Regions from separate parts of the Homo sapiens genome. Here all the other regions are linked to region 3. Evidence: promoter capture Hi-C in human tissues and cell types (Jung and others, 2019). All regions are on one chromosome and are shown on one strand. Each heading gives the region's core, a stretch centred on a gene start or on the middle of the fragment in contact. The rest is flanking DNA. Distances are from core to core; before and after follow the strand shown.

Region 1 (4,280 bases), core at 164-2,663, 340 kb before region 3:
GTCCACTGCCTGCCAGTCAGCAGATGGATGACTCTGTTCACCTCAGCCGCGACACGCCCCACAGCGAGTGCAGCAGTCGTCCTGCCAGATGGGCTGCTCCTGGCTGCGTCCATTCTCTCAGTAAATAGCCTCTCCATTCATCCTTCCGGTCCCTCTATGCCCGAGTCACCTCTGATTACTCCTTTGCAGAATCCTCTTCATTCTTCTCCTGGAGTGTCTTTGGAGCCATCTCTCCCTTCCACTCTCATGGCTCAAGTTTAGGATCTTTTGTCTATTTCAATTCAACAGCCATTTATTGAGCCCCAGGGGCTGTGCTGGGGACATAATCGTGAGAAGGAAGCTCATGCTTCTGTCCTCGACTGGCTTGTAGTCTAGTCAAGAAGACTTGAGGGCTGATGAGCTTTTCAGAGATGGAAATAGAGGATACTGTGCCCCGTGGCCTCTGCTCTGCCCAGCCCCCTACCAGTAACCAACAATTTTCCAGAAGAATTTCCAAATTCCCTTCTCCAAAGTCTCCACTGGCTCCACTTTCATTTGCTTGCAGAAAAAAGTCTAAATGCTTTGGAACAGCATCATTCAAGGTCCTCTATGATCTGACTCCAAGCTAGCTTGCACTAACCCTGTGTGTCCCTGAAAACCCCCCGCTCAGCGGCATCAGCCATGCATGCTGGGCGAAGATGCCCTCTACTTGCCCACCCCTGGGCCTCTGTTCAAGTGATTCCTTTATTCCATGCCCACATATGTAAAACCTGTTTGTCCTTCCTGCTGAGATGCCACATCTTCCAGAAAGTCCTCCTGACCCCTTCCTCTTCAGCCCTCCATCCATCCCCCCAGCCCTTGGCACAACCTTCACAGCACTTATCATAGCTTGTCATGGTATTTATGACTTAGCTTCTCACCTTCTTTCAAGGACAGGAAGCTTATCTCATTCATCCTGAATAATCACAACAAAAATAATAGCTAAAATTATGAGATGTTAGAATGCATATTTTATTTATATGAGGCAATGTGCTAGGTGCTTCCCTTGCACTATCTTGTTGCAACCTTTTGACAAACACGTGAGGTAGGTATATCACTGGCCTCCTTTTATAAAGGAAGCTCAGAGAGATGAATTGACTTTCTGGACTTAAGTTCAGGAAGCTTCACTTCAAAACCCATGCCCTTGACCATGACTTCACCTTTATTACCTAACTGTGTCTGGGTGAGTTCCTTGTATATAAGTCCTTACTGGGGCCGGGGCAGGGAGGGGTGTCAAGAGGATGGGACAGTGAAGACAAGAGCAGCCTCCCCAAGGTCATGTGACAAGTCACGGTCACATAAACATCACGAATGCGGGAGCTTTAGCGACCACATTTTCTCCTACACCTTTTACCTAGGAAATGGAAGTCACAGTTTTCAAAGGGAAACTAAACGTTTTTGACTGTGCAAAGGATTAGATGACAGTATGTTGAATGCAAATTGATTGAGTCTGATTTAATTTGGATGGTGATGTGCCAAGTCACACAGCCCTGTTGGACCAGGTGCCTGAAGCAAAGAACTTTCCTTGCACCCAGCTACCATGGCCTCTGCCTGAGCCTGGGAGGAGACATTTAACAAGGGAAATTCCTTCTCCCTCCCTCACTGGACTGAACCTGTCCCTTTTCTTAAAGAAAGGGAGTGGCGTGGAGCCCAGGCCCTCCCCCAGGGGCCTGCCTGCTCAGCTCCAGACAGGTCTGCCTTTGTGAGCAGGGGTGGGCTGGCGGGCAGGAAGGCTCTTGGACTGCAAGACCGCTGTGGCATCCCAAGTCAGTGGGAGCGAGGCCAGAGGGGACAGTCAGGATGGGAAGGTTGAGAAAGGGAAGACAGTCACCGTCAGGCTAGCCAGGGCGCTTCCTCCATTCCTTTCCAGGGCATGAACAAGACAGCATGTGGATGAGGCTGGAAGTAGCCCCAGGGAGCCTGGAGGAACAGAGTCCAGAGTTCGGAATTTTCAGAGCCCGCCGAGGCCTTCAGCATATTTAGCATGGGACATTTGGTAGTGGGAGGACAGCCGCTCCTGTCATCTTCCCTTTCTCTCTCCCCATCAGCCTGCGAGGGACTAAAAGCCGGCGATTTTTCCTTGCTGTATTTCTTTCTTTTTTTTTTTTTTTTTTTGAGACGGAGTCTCGCTCTGTCCCCCAGGCTGGAGTGCAGTGGCCCGATCTCAGCTCACTGCAAGCTCCGCCTCCCAGGTTCACACCTTTCTCCTGCCTCAGCCTCCCAAGTAGCTGGGACTACAGGCGCCCGCCACCGCGCCCAGCTAATTTTTTGTATTTTTAGTAGAGACGGGGTTTCACCGAGTTAGCCAGGATGGTCTCGATCTCCTGACCTCATGACCCGCCCACCTCGGCCTCCCAAAGTGCTGGGATTACAGGCGTGAGCCACCGCGCCCGGCCTGTTTCTTTCTCTTTTTTCTTGAGACCGAGTCTCGCTCTGTTGCCCAGGCTGGAGTACAGTGGCATGATCTCAGCTCACTGCAACCTCTGTCTCCCAGGTTCAAGCAATTCTCCTGCCTCAGCCTTCCGAGTAGCTGGGACTAAAGGCTCCCGTCACCACCGTTGCCCAGCTAATTTTTGTATTTTTAGTAGAGACGGGGTTTTACCATATTGGCCAGGCTGATCTCGAACTCCTGAACTTGTGATGCGCCTGCCTTGGCCTCCCAAAGTGCTGGGATTACAGGTGTGAGCCACTGTGCCCGGCTTCTTTTCTGTTTTTCTTTCTTTCTTTTTTTTTTCTGTCTCTTTCTTTCTTCATTTTTGTTTTTGTTTTTGTTTTTGTTTTTTGAGACAAGGCCTCACTGCAGTGGCACTATCACAGCTCACTGCAGCCTCAAACTTCTGGGCTCAAGAGATCTTCCCACCTCAGCCTCCTGAGTAGCTGAGACTATAAGCACTCACCAACACACCTGCCTAATTAAAAAAAAAATGTAGAGATAAAGTGTTGCCGTGTTGCCCAGGCTGCTCTCAAAATCCTGGCTTTCAGTGATCCTCCTGCCTTGGCCTCCCAAAGTACTGGGATTGTAGGCGTGAACTGGTATACCAGGCCTCTTGCTCCATTTCTTTACTTGGCTTGAGTTTGGCTTCTCTTGTTATAATGTAGACATCTTTATATGCCACTTTGTCCTCCATATCCTGGCTGAAATGCTACGGTTTTTTTTGTGGGGAACATGTCAGAGGATACACAGACTGGTGAATGGACAGACTGATGAATAAGTAAATGTTGGGATTCTTGTCTAACACACTGTGCTTTCTAGACTCTGACTCAACGACACCACACTGCTGCTGGATTTCATGAAATCTTACACCCCATCCTATCCAGTACATTGTATCATGTCTTTAAGAAATTTAAAGGAGCAGAAACAAGTTTTAAAAAGCTAAGATTGTGTGTGTGTGTGTGTGTGTGTGTGTGTGTGTGTGTGTGTATTACATGCTCCTTAGACCATTAGAGTCATTCTGGTGGGGTTATGAAACCAGGGAAAAGTCCTTTTTCGCGAGGGCCATGATGCTGATACAGATTTCACCCTAATATAACAAGACCTTAAGGGTGAGCACTGGGTAAAGTTCAATCAAGTCTGAGAACTTTTCAGCAAGTGCCATACTAGAGTAGCTTGTGTTATGATGCAATTCCACTGGCAGTCAAAGTGGCAGGCAAAAGTCTGGGTTTTCCTGACCCTGGGTGGTGGAGCAGGCCAGTTATCAAAGGCAGGCTGTAGGAGCAGGGGGTCTCACCTTGAAAAAAGAAGGGTTTGCCAGAGAGCCAACCTAGGGGGAAGTCATTAGCTCCATCTTGAGTGCTCATGAGATGATGAGAAAGACTGGGGATCGAGAAAAGAACAGGCAACGCTTGACTACCTGTGGGCCTCTCCAGCCTCCCCAAAGGAAAAGCTTATTGGTTGTGCTTGAAGAGGAGAGCTACGTACCTGTGATCCTCTTAGGATCACTGTAGAACCTTCAGTGGGAAGGACCATGGGTTTCTGAAGATATGGGGAGGCTCTAAGTGTGTGAGCTATTAACGTTAAAAGCATGAAGCTTTATTGGTAGACAGGACTCAATGGGTAGAGATGAGAGGCTTTGAGGAGAACATATTGAGGTCACTGAGTGTTGAGGGAATTCCGGGAGGACAGAGGCAGCTAGCTGGATGCAGTGAGCCAGGGTGGGAGAGGAGACAGGAAGATGAAGAGACAGAGAAGCCTTGTTGGGGGGAGGTCCTGGGTCATTCATTGCTTGAGAAAATCCCAGCCAGAACCTGTGGCGACCTTTTCC
Region 2 (4,323 bases), core at 1,589-4,088, 460 kb before region 3:
ACTCAGTTTAGGGGCAGTAAGGATTAGACTCCTTAGGAAAACAAGCAAAATTTAAGTTATCTTCAACTGGTGATCATCTTCATGTACAAATTACGTACGGTTTCAAGCACAAAATCCCAAGCAAGCCCCACTGGGCTGTGTCTTTTCCTTGCAGTATGGTATGAAGTTAAGCTGGCCAGGAGAGGTGGGGGAGATGAGAAGCAAGCCAAAGTTATATCCCAAAAGACACAGAGGCCAAAAGCTATCAGTTCCACTCCAATTTCCTATGCAATGGAGCAGAGCTTCCCTGCTGGGGAACCGATTACAAGCATGCTGGCTACGTAAGAGGAAACAGGCTTTCTTTCCAGAGAGAAACCCATCTTGCTGCTCTAAACAGAGCTGGCAGCATGGTAGTCTGCTGACCTTGCACACTGAGCTCTGGGCAGCTTCGGTCAGAAGGCCGGCAGATTGTGGCAAGTCCTGGCCAGCAGACACAGATGCAGCAGGAGCATCTGGATGCCGAAGCCTACGGATGCTGAGGCACTCGCCTCCAGTGCCTGCCCTGGCCTCCACAATGACATATTGTCCACAGCAGGGGTGGTGTGGCTGATGATCTGCTGGGTAAGTCGCCCACGGTAAAGTCTGTGTCAAACATTTCAGTGCACTAGTCAGATACAAATGCAAGAAAACCTTATTTTTGGAAGAGCAACCCACAGATTTTCTTAAGAAGCAAATAGCAGAGTGAAAGCAGCACTAATTTCCTGGTGGTGACACCCTGGGATCACACCAGCAGCAGCTGTGGTCTGCCCAGTCATCCAGCCCTGCTTTAAAAGGGTGAGAACCAGCTGAGATCAGAACAGAGACAGCAGTATTTGCCAGAAATGAGTTGCCCAGGGGCACCTCCAGGTAGAAGGGGGAGATCAGCTCTCTCTGGGTTTAAGGCATCTCAGCTCCAGAGCCATCACCCAGTCTCTCTCCTCCTCTCCCCAGATCCTGAGTTCCCCTTGCTGTGCAACAGCTCAACCAGCTCATTATGCTTCCTGAATGTTTTTAAAGAAAAAAAAAATGTGAAACATAATTACAGGCTCTGACCCCAAATGACTTTAACCCTGACAAGAGCACCCAAGACTCACTGTGGGAATACAGTTTCCCTGTGATTGCCCAGGAGCAAAAGTTTCCTTTCAGGAGCTCCCCCACATCCGCTGGCAATGCTGCTGAAGGGTTCCCGCTCACAGGCCAAGCTCACGGAACAACTGGATCCCAGGCGTGGAGCCACACTGGCTGACATGTTCTCAAGCTGCTAGAACTTTTACGCTTCTGAAACCCTCCTGCATCATTCCTAGGCCTGCAGTAATGCAAACACCCTCCAGATATCTGAGATGTGCCCACGAGGCTGGAGAGCACAGCTGTGCACATTAAGGAAGAACAGGATTTGGGGACCAGATTTATGCAGAATCTCTGCTGACCTATTTAGACCTAATGTGTGGTCCAAGGACTCCCACCATGCAAATCACTTGGGGTGAGATGGAAGGGAGTGGGGGCGGGGGTATAGGAAATTCGGGTTTCCAGACCTGCCTAGAGCTCATGCATCAGCATTTCCTTGGGTAAAGCCAGAGAATCTGCAGTTAGGGGAATTCTTGTACACCTTCACTTTTAAGAACCACTATCTTACAAGGACACTCTAAAGGCAGATTCCAATAACAGGTCACTTACCACAGGCCTGCTTACACTGCTAAGCATAATATCTACAATTATCTCAGCTGCTCCTCACAATAATATTGTAAGGTATAATAGATATTTATTATCCTCCCTTGCACTTATGCTGTTTTCTCCAGTTTCATCTCCAAAGGTCAAATCCAAAGGCCTCCAAACAGTCCTCACCTAAACTGGCCAGGATGAAACATCAAGTCATCAAAGCCTCTCCAACTCTCTGCTACCCACCTGCTAAATGTGGATGCTCCCTATGGTTTCAGCTTCCACTCTCTTCTCTCACTCCATGCCAGGCGTTCTTCACCCTTGCTGCACATTAGAATCACCTGGGGAGTTTTTAAAATGTCCCATGCCCAGACTGCAACCCAGCCAAATTATATCAGAATCTCTGAAGGTGAGTCCTGAGCTCCTCAGGTGATTTCAATGGACAGCAGAGGCTAAGGACCCCTGCGTGGGTCTCACTCTTATAGATTCAGTCACTCCCAGGGCCTCAAATACCACCTGGAGAGAGCCAAACCTATACCTGTAGCCCTCATCTTCCTCCAGAGTTCCAGACTTGTGCTTCCCACAGCCTTGTGGGTGTCTCCACCTGCATGCCCTGCAGGAACTCAGCAAGGACAAACCTTACTTCACTCTGTATCCCCCATCACACACCACGATTCCTCTCCTGTATGCAGTTCAGCCATCCTCCCAAGGCCTAAGAAGGAAACTCTGGAGATGCCCCTAACTCCTCTGTCATCCCTTCCTCAGGCACTATGCTGCTGACTATGTGTTCTCTTCATCCACACCTGATCATCTACTCTCAAAAACACCATGAATCGGCCAGGCGCAGTGGCTCATGCCTGTAATCCCAGCACTCTGGGAGGCCAAGGCGGGCAGATCACGAAGTCAGGAGATTGAGACCATCCTGAGTAACACGGTGAAACCCCATCTCTACTAAAAAAAAATACAAAAAATTAGCCGGGCATGGTGGCACGCACCTGTAGTCCCAGCTACTCAGGAGGCTGAGGCAGGAGAATCACTTGAACCCGGGAGGCGGAGGTTGCAGTGAGCCAAGATAATACCACTGCACTCCAGCCTGGGCAACAGAGAGAGACTCCATCTCAAAAAAAAGCCATGAATTCTGCATTCCACTCTATAACTTATCAGTGTTTATTTGAATATTCAAATTGTGATCCCACTGAGTAAAACAGATTTTCAGCAGACTGTATTCCCTGGCACACAGCCTCCTGCCCCAGACACCTGCACCCAAGCCTAAGGAGTGCATTGCTCCCCTCCCTTTTCCCCCAGGTGTGATGGGCAGATGGTGTCCATTCTCTCACATACTTCTGCCTTGGGACAGTGTTAAGAAGAGAATGACTCTCATAACACTGGTGAAATATGGGATTATTTTAGGCAATACAATGACAAATACTTTTCAATGTAATGATTATGATTTAATAATTATTTGAAGATATTTAGAAAAAAAAAGTTAACCATATCAAACTTGCAATTTCTGAATGCAGGTTCAAAAGCTCCTTTTTGAAATAAATGTATTTTGTAATGAGTAGACTTTTTTCAAAGTAAATAAAGGGTGGTGAGGTGGGGCAAAAATAACAGAGGTACCCTTCACATGACTGATCATTAGTGACCACACTGCCCCCTTGGGCTCGATAAGCCTTCAGTTGCCTTTCCCACAGGCCTCTGCTCCCTCCCCCAGAGGCCCTTTTAAACTGCTAGCAATCTCCCCTTTGTGCTGTGGGCTGCCTGTTTCCCTGCCTCCTCTCAAAACAGTGAGCATCTAGGAGACAAGGACTGTGCCTGCTTCATGCCAGGAACCTGGCCAATGTAGCCTTCTACATCAACAGGAGCTGGAACAGAGATGGCAGAGGACATGTGGCATGATCCTGTCCTCTATCAGGGAAAAGTGCTAAGCTCTGCAGGAGAAGCTGCCAGAGAGAGATGTCATGCAAAACTCCCGACTCCCTCACCAGCTCCCAGGAATTCCAGTGCCCACCGGGAAGCTTCTATGATAGGCAACGTGTCCCCTAGACCAGAGTCACGGTCTCCGGTCACAGAAGGCAGAAGACTGCCCTCCTTCAACAAACCTGCCGAATCTCCTGAATGTTACACGCACCGCACAAAGATAAAAACTCAACAGCACCATCACTAGGAACACAAACAAGGTCTCTGGGATCCTACATTCAACTGATTTCTAGGTACAGCTGTCTCAGTTTAGGGAATGATTTTTGCTGTGGCTTTTAATCCCAGAATTAACAATACACACAAACTGGAAAGGGGAAAATGGAGAAAATTCTAAGTATTGTTTTATTTACAGAGACCATTCTGTAATAAACTGTCTAAAATGGTGAGTTTCCTTCCTACTCTAAAATCATGGTTTATCAAATTCAGTTCACTTAGAACTTTTCAGAAACACTGTTATGAAATACTTATTAAAATGAAAAATGTACATACCCTTTGGTCCAGCAGTTTCATTTCTAGGAATTTGTCACTCATGTGCCTCATGCCAGAGGTGCCAGGATGTTCACAACAACATTACTTGCAATGGTGAAAGGTTGGAAATAATCTAAATGTTTATTATTAGGGGAATGGTTACATACACTATATTTAATTCATACAATAGAATACAATGCA
Region 3 (4,203 bases), core at 1,281-3,780:
GTCTTTTCAAAAGACTGTGAGCTTCACAAGGGCAGGGAGGGCTGTCTGTCCCTCACCACTGAGTCTCCAGAGTCAGGGCAGGCCCCACTACAGAATCGATCAATGAATGAGTGAATGAGTGAATGAATGAATGAATGAATGAATGAATTTTTCATAACTGCTGCTCCAAACCATTCCTCAGCTTAGGTTCCAAGCACAACCAGAATATGACCTCCAGAGCCCTTCTAGACGCTCTGAATCTCGCTGTACTTAAGCATCAGAGGCCCCTCCCAGCTCAAGACTGGGAGCTCCTCCTTCTCCCCACCACAGGCTGGGGTCTCCTCGCATTCTCTTTCAGGGAAGCTGAGAAAGACTATGAAATGTAATCCTGTCTGTCTCCTGAGTTTCTCTAATAAAGAAAACAGGATAGCAACCCCCCTCCCCGCGGCTCCTCCAATCCTCCTTTTCTGCCATAGATTTAAGATTTATTTATTCCCATCCTTCTGACTGTTTCAGCAAGGGCCATGGGTGAGCACCAGCTGGAAAATTACTGCTTCAACTTTCATTGTTTAAAATGCTTAAATGACATGCGAGAAACAGGTTTTTAGGTCTGTGATGCTGAGAAGGGTTGGTAGCAAAGTAAAGCCAGGTTGCAAAGACCTAGAAAATAAGTGCTACAATTTACCAGCTCTTCCATATACCCGGTGCAGGACCCTTGGCCTCAGTTTCTACAGCTGACAGAGAGGGCGATACTGAACTTCAACAGCCTTAAAAGGAAGTCCTGGACAACTGTACCCATTTTTCTGGCGAAGAGTTCTCTTGGTCTTAGAGAAAGGTCTCGCCCCTGAAAGGAAGGCTGAGGTTCCCTAGGGGAGAGTCTGCTCTGCCCTCAGGAGCTGGGTAAGTACACGGAGGGGTGAGCCGAATGGTGAGAAGGCATTTTAGGCTAGGACTCGGTGACCTTGGGCTGCCTGCCTCTAGAGTCCCAGCCCCAGCCCTAGGCCAGACCTCAGCCCTGGGCTGGGAGCCTTTCATTGGTTCCTCTGACAACAGCCAAGCACAATCCTATAGTGGCGTAGGAAGAAAAAGACTGCCACACAATCTCCCCGTGCGGCCAGAACAGCGGCAAGACAGACCTTACAAGGGACTCAGGGCCAAGCCCTGGCCCAGACTCTGCTCTTATCCACGCATCAAAGCCACCCCCCGCCCCGGACTTCCCGGAGGCTACAGGCTCCTCCGTTCCAGGGAGGAGCAGGGCCTGCTGCGAGGGCTCCCCGCCTTCCTGGAGTCAGGCCTAATGGCGGGGGCTTTTCTTTTCACCGGCTTGAGCTGATCCTCACCCCCGCCCCCCAACGCCACCATCATTAACAGCGAAGAAAGGATCCCCAGCCATTTCCATTTCCTCTGCGGCTCAAGAGCCCCGTTGTTATTTAATCCTGAGGCCACCCCGGCAGCATCCTCGGCGCAGCCGGCTCCACCCATCCACCTGGCCAGTTCTCGGCCGCTCCCACTTCCCCGGAGGGGAGGCCGGTGAGAGGTGGGGGATATTGGGGAAAGGCGCCTACAACAGCGAAGGGCCGTGGGCCTTCGGTGGACCGAGGCTCCTCAGGCCAGCGTCCTGTGAGGGCTGGGAAACCGACTGGGACAGAGAAAGGACACCTAGCTAGGGCGACAGAGAGCGGGCAGACGCCCGGGCACTGCGGACATTGCACTGGGGCGGGGGGCGGGGGGAACGCTGGGAGGCGAGGGCCAGGCTTCCTCTGGCTGAGTTGCCAGAATCGCCCCGGGGGGTACTGGAGCCGGAAGAGGCCTGGGCCCAGTCACTGTCTACACCCAAGAAATGGGGGGAGGGGCGGCCAGCACTCACGAGAGATTCAGCCTCAGGAAAAAGAACCAGATTCACTCACCAATCCTCACCCCACCCTTTGATATGAATGATGGACATTTTCCTAATTTTTGGTAAACGCAGCTTCAAGACCCCTCCCGCCTGGCGTCTCTGGTCTAGAGCAAGAGAAGGCCCCCAGTAGGGGTCCTCCCGCCCCCCCTTTTGACTGCCTGCGGGGGGCAGAGATCCCCAGATCTAGGTGTGCCCTCCACCACCCTGCTCTCAACCCGGGATCCGGAGGCCGCAGCGTCCCCCACCCCCCAGCGACACTGACGGTTCCTGCCCAGGCCCGCAGTGGCGTGAAGGTGGCCTTTACCTCCTCTCGCAGGCTGGGAGGGGGTGCAGCCCGCGCAGCTGGCCCAGCTGCAGCAGTCGCCGCCGCCCTCCATTCATTAAAAAAAAAAAAAAAAAGGCAACAACAGCCTCCACTGGAACCTCCACCCCTCTTTGTAAAAGAACGACGGCTCCTGGTGGAGCTTGAGCCAGTCCCAGCAATCACGGGTTAAGATCTTTTCCCGCCCCCCATTCATAAAAAAAGGAGCGGAGCGCATGCGCGCTCAGGGTCTGTTGTGCCCACCCATTCATAGAATCGCGAACGGCACGCGTGCGCACTGGCGCTCCCTTCCCTCCCATTCATAAAAAAGCCATTTTCCCAGGCAGTGGTTGCAACATCGCCGCGGAGGTAGCGAGCTGAGCTGACAGCGCGGAGCTGGCGCTGTGGAGCGCAGGGAGCCTTGCCGGTTCCTCCGACCGGCGTCTGCGAGTACAGCGGCGGCTAACCTGCCCCGGCTTCAGGATTTACACAGACGTGGGGCGATGCTTGTGACCCTGCAGCTCCTCAAAGTAAGTCCATGGCTGGTTTGGAGATCTGAAACTGCCCCTCTCTGAGCCGCGACGCGACTCCCCCCTTGGGCTGGGGCAAATGGTGCGCTATTTCTAGGCGCGCCTCAGTGTTCCTTCCCTCAGCCTGCGCCTCCTTGAGTCGCTGCGGTGCGCCGCAGCTCCCTGACGCCCTCGGCCCGGCCGGCACGGCGCCGGGGGTGTTCACAGCCTGGCACCGCCGTTTCCGACCCCTGGGCATTGCCAAGCCCGGCTTCCCCGCCCTCTGAGACTCGGGAAGCCCCGTGCGTGTCCCGGGAGTTTGCCTCTGGCCTGGCCTCTTTCCTTCTCCTGCCACCATCCGCCTCGAACGCTGGAACGGGCGTCTCTGGGCTTGGTCAGGAGCCACCGTTTGGGTCGGGGGGCGCCCTCGCTCTGGGCGGCTCGCCCACCTCCCAGCTCGGTGCCCACGGTGCCAGCTTTGCCGTGTATCTCCCAGCCCGCCGTAGCGGCCTATGCTCGACGTAGATTTTTTCTTTCTCTTCGGAGCCGTGACGGACTGAATTCCCTCCCCTTCTGCCTCTCCCTCGATGGTCAGCGAGGGGCTGGCTCAGGACTGGGCATTCCTACTCCCTCTCCTTGGCGAGGCGGTTCCTCGCCGTCTGACCTTTGCTCCGCTGCCGCATTTTATGCTATGCAACTGCCTTGCAGTTGACTTTTTCTTGCCTGGCCTCTGTAAGGCCTGAGGCTCCTCGGCCACCCTGTACCTCCCTATCCTCGGGCACCGAGCTGTGCCAGGCCCCGGAGCCCCCAGGCCGCGCTAGGGCTGCGGTGGGGGTTGAAGGTGCGTTTACATAACACCAGGCGTGTGGGAGCTGGAGGAAGAGGTTGCGAATGTAGGAGAGATAAGGCTCCTGCTTTCCCTCCTTCCTTCTTGGTGGTACCAGGCTTGACATCACAGAGAAGAGGATAGAGACGGTATGTTCTGACAAATTCTGAATCGCCAAGACCCCGGGGACAGTGAGCTGGGTGAGGGCGGGTTTGGCTAGCCAGGGCAGCTAGAGCTTGGCTCCATCACTGGGTCCAGGGCTGTGCCCAGTTCCCCCTCCATGCAGACGATCAAAAAGCATTTAGACAGTAGCTGCTCTTGTGCAAGAAGACGGTTTCTCAATTCTCCTTGATTGGGGGCAGGGGGTTGTGGGCAGGAGAGGCAGGGGAGACAGAAAATGGTTGCGTGGCTTATAGGGCTGAAGGATGGGCAAGAGAGGCGAAATGGGCTGGAGGGGCTAGATGGTAGGCAGAGTAGGGAGCTGCTGGCTGCCTCTTTCACCAGCTGCTGGAGGGGCATCCATATTGCCAAGGCCTCTGTGAGGGCAGGAGGCCGCCTTCTGGCGCAGCAAGGCTTCCGTACCCCCCAGCGCGGTTAGTGCTGGAAAGAAGAGTGTACAGTGGGGTGCCCAAACCTAGTGGCATCCCCTTCTTTCCTGCCTCCAAATCAGTGGCGTGATTCTCTCCAGTTT

What was found. Contacts are between HindIII fragments. The study calls those that stand out against the background at their distance.
Region 1: a contact is called between a fragment that was not itself captured here and the fragment with the promoter of SPRY4 in region 3, in 1 of the 25 tissues and cell types used here (IMR-90 fibroblasts).
Region 2: a fragment that was not itself captured here is called in contact with the fragment with the promoter of SPRY4 in region 3 in 1 of the 25 tissues and cell types used here (H1 embryonic stem cells).

Annotation. Positions count from the first base shown.
Region 1 is chr5:142,665,439-142,669,718 of GRCh38, reverse strand. All of the region lies in intron 1 of FGF1 (fibroblast growth factor 1), which reads left to right. Among named protein-coding and RNA genes, the nearest start is that of FGF1, 19 kb to the left of the region's middle. RefSeq lists enhancers at 1-37, 1,265-1,772, 1,773-2,281. The HindIII fragment of the contact is 5,123 bases long and covers 1-3,974 here.
Region 2 is chr5:142,780,201-142,784,523 of GRCh38, reverse strand. All of the region lies in intron 1 of ARHGAP26 (Rho GTPase activating protein 26), which reads right to left. Among named protein-coding and RNA genes, the nearest start is that of ARHGAP26, 12 kb to the right of the region's middle. The HindIII fragment of the contact is 8,142 bases long and covers 1-4,323 here.
Region 3 is chr5:142,323,348-142,327,550 of GRCh38, reverse strand. SPRY4 (sprouty RTK signaling antagonist 4) reads left to right here and starts at 2,530. Exons shown (of 2, transcript NM_001127496.3): 1 at 2,530-2,707. SPRY4-AS1 (SPRY4 antisense RNA 1) reads right to left here and starts at 2,258. Exons shown (of 4, transcript NR_120664.1): 1 at 2,181-2,258. RefSeq lists enhancers at 3,064-3,123, 2,605-3,567, 3,568-4,203. The HindIII fragment of the contact is 10,639 bases long and covers 1-4,203 here.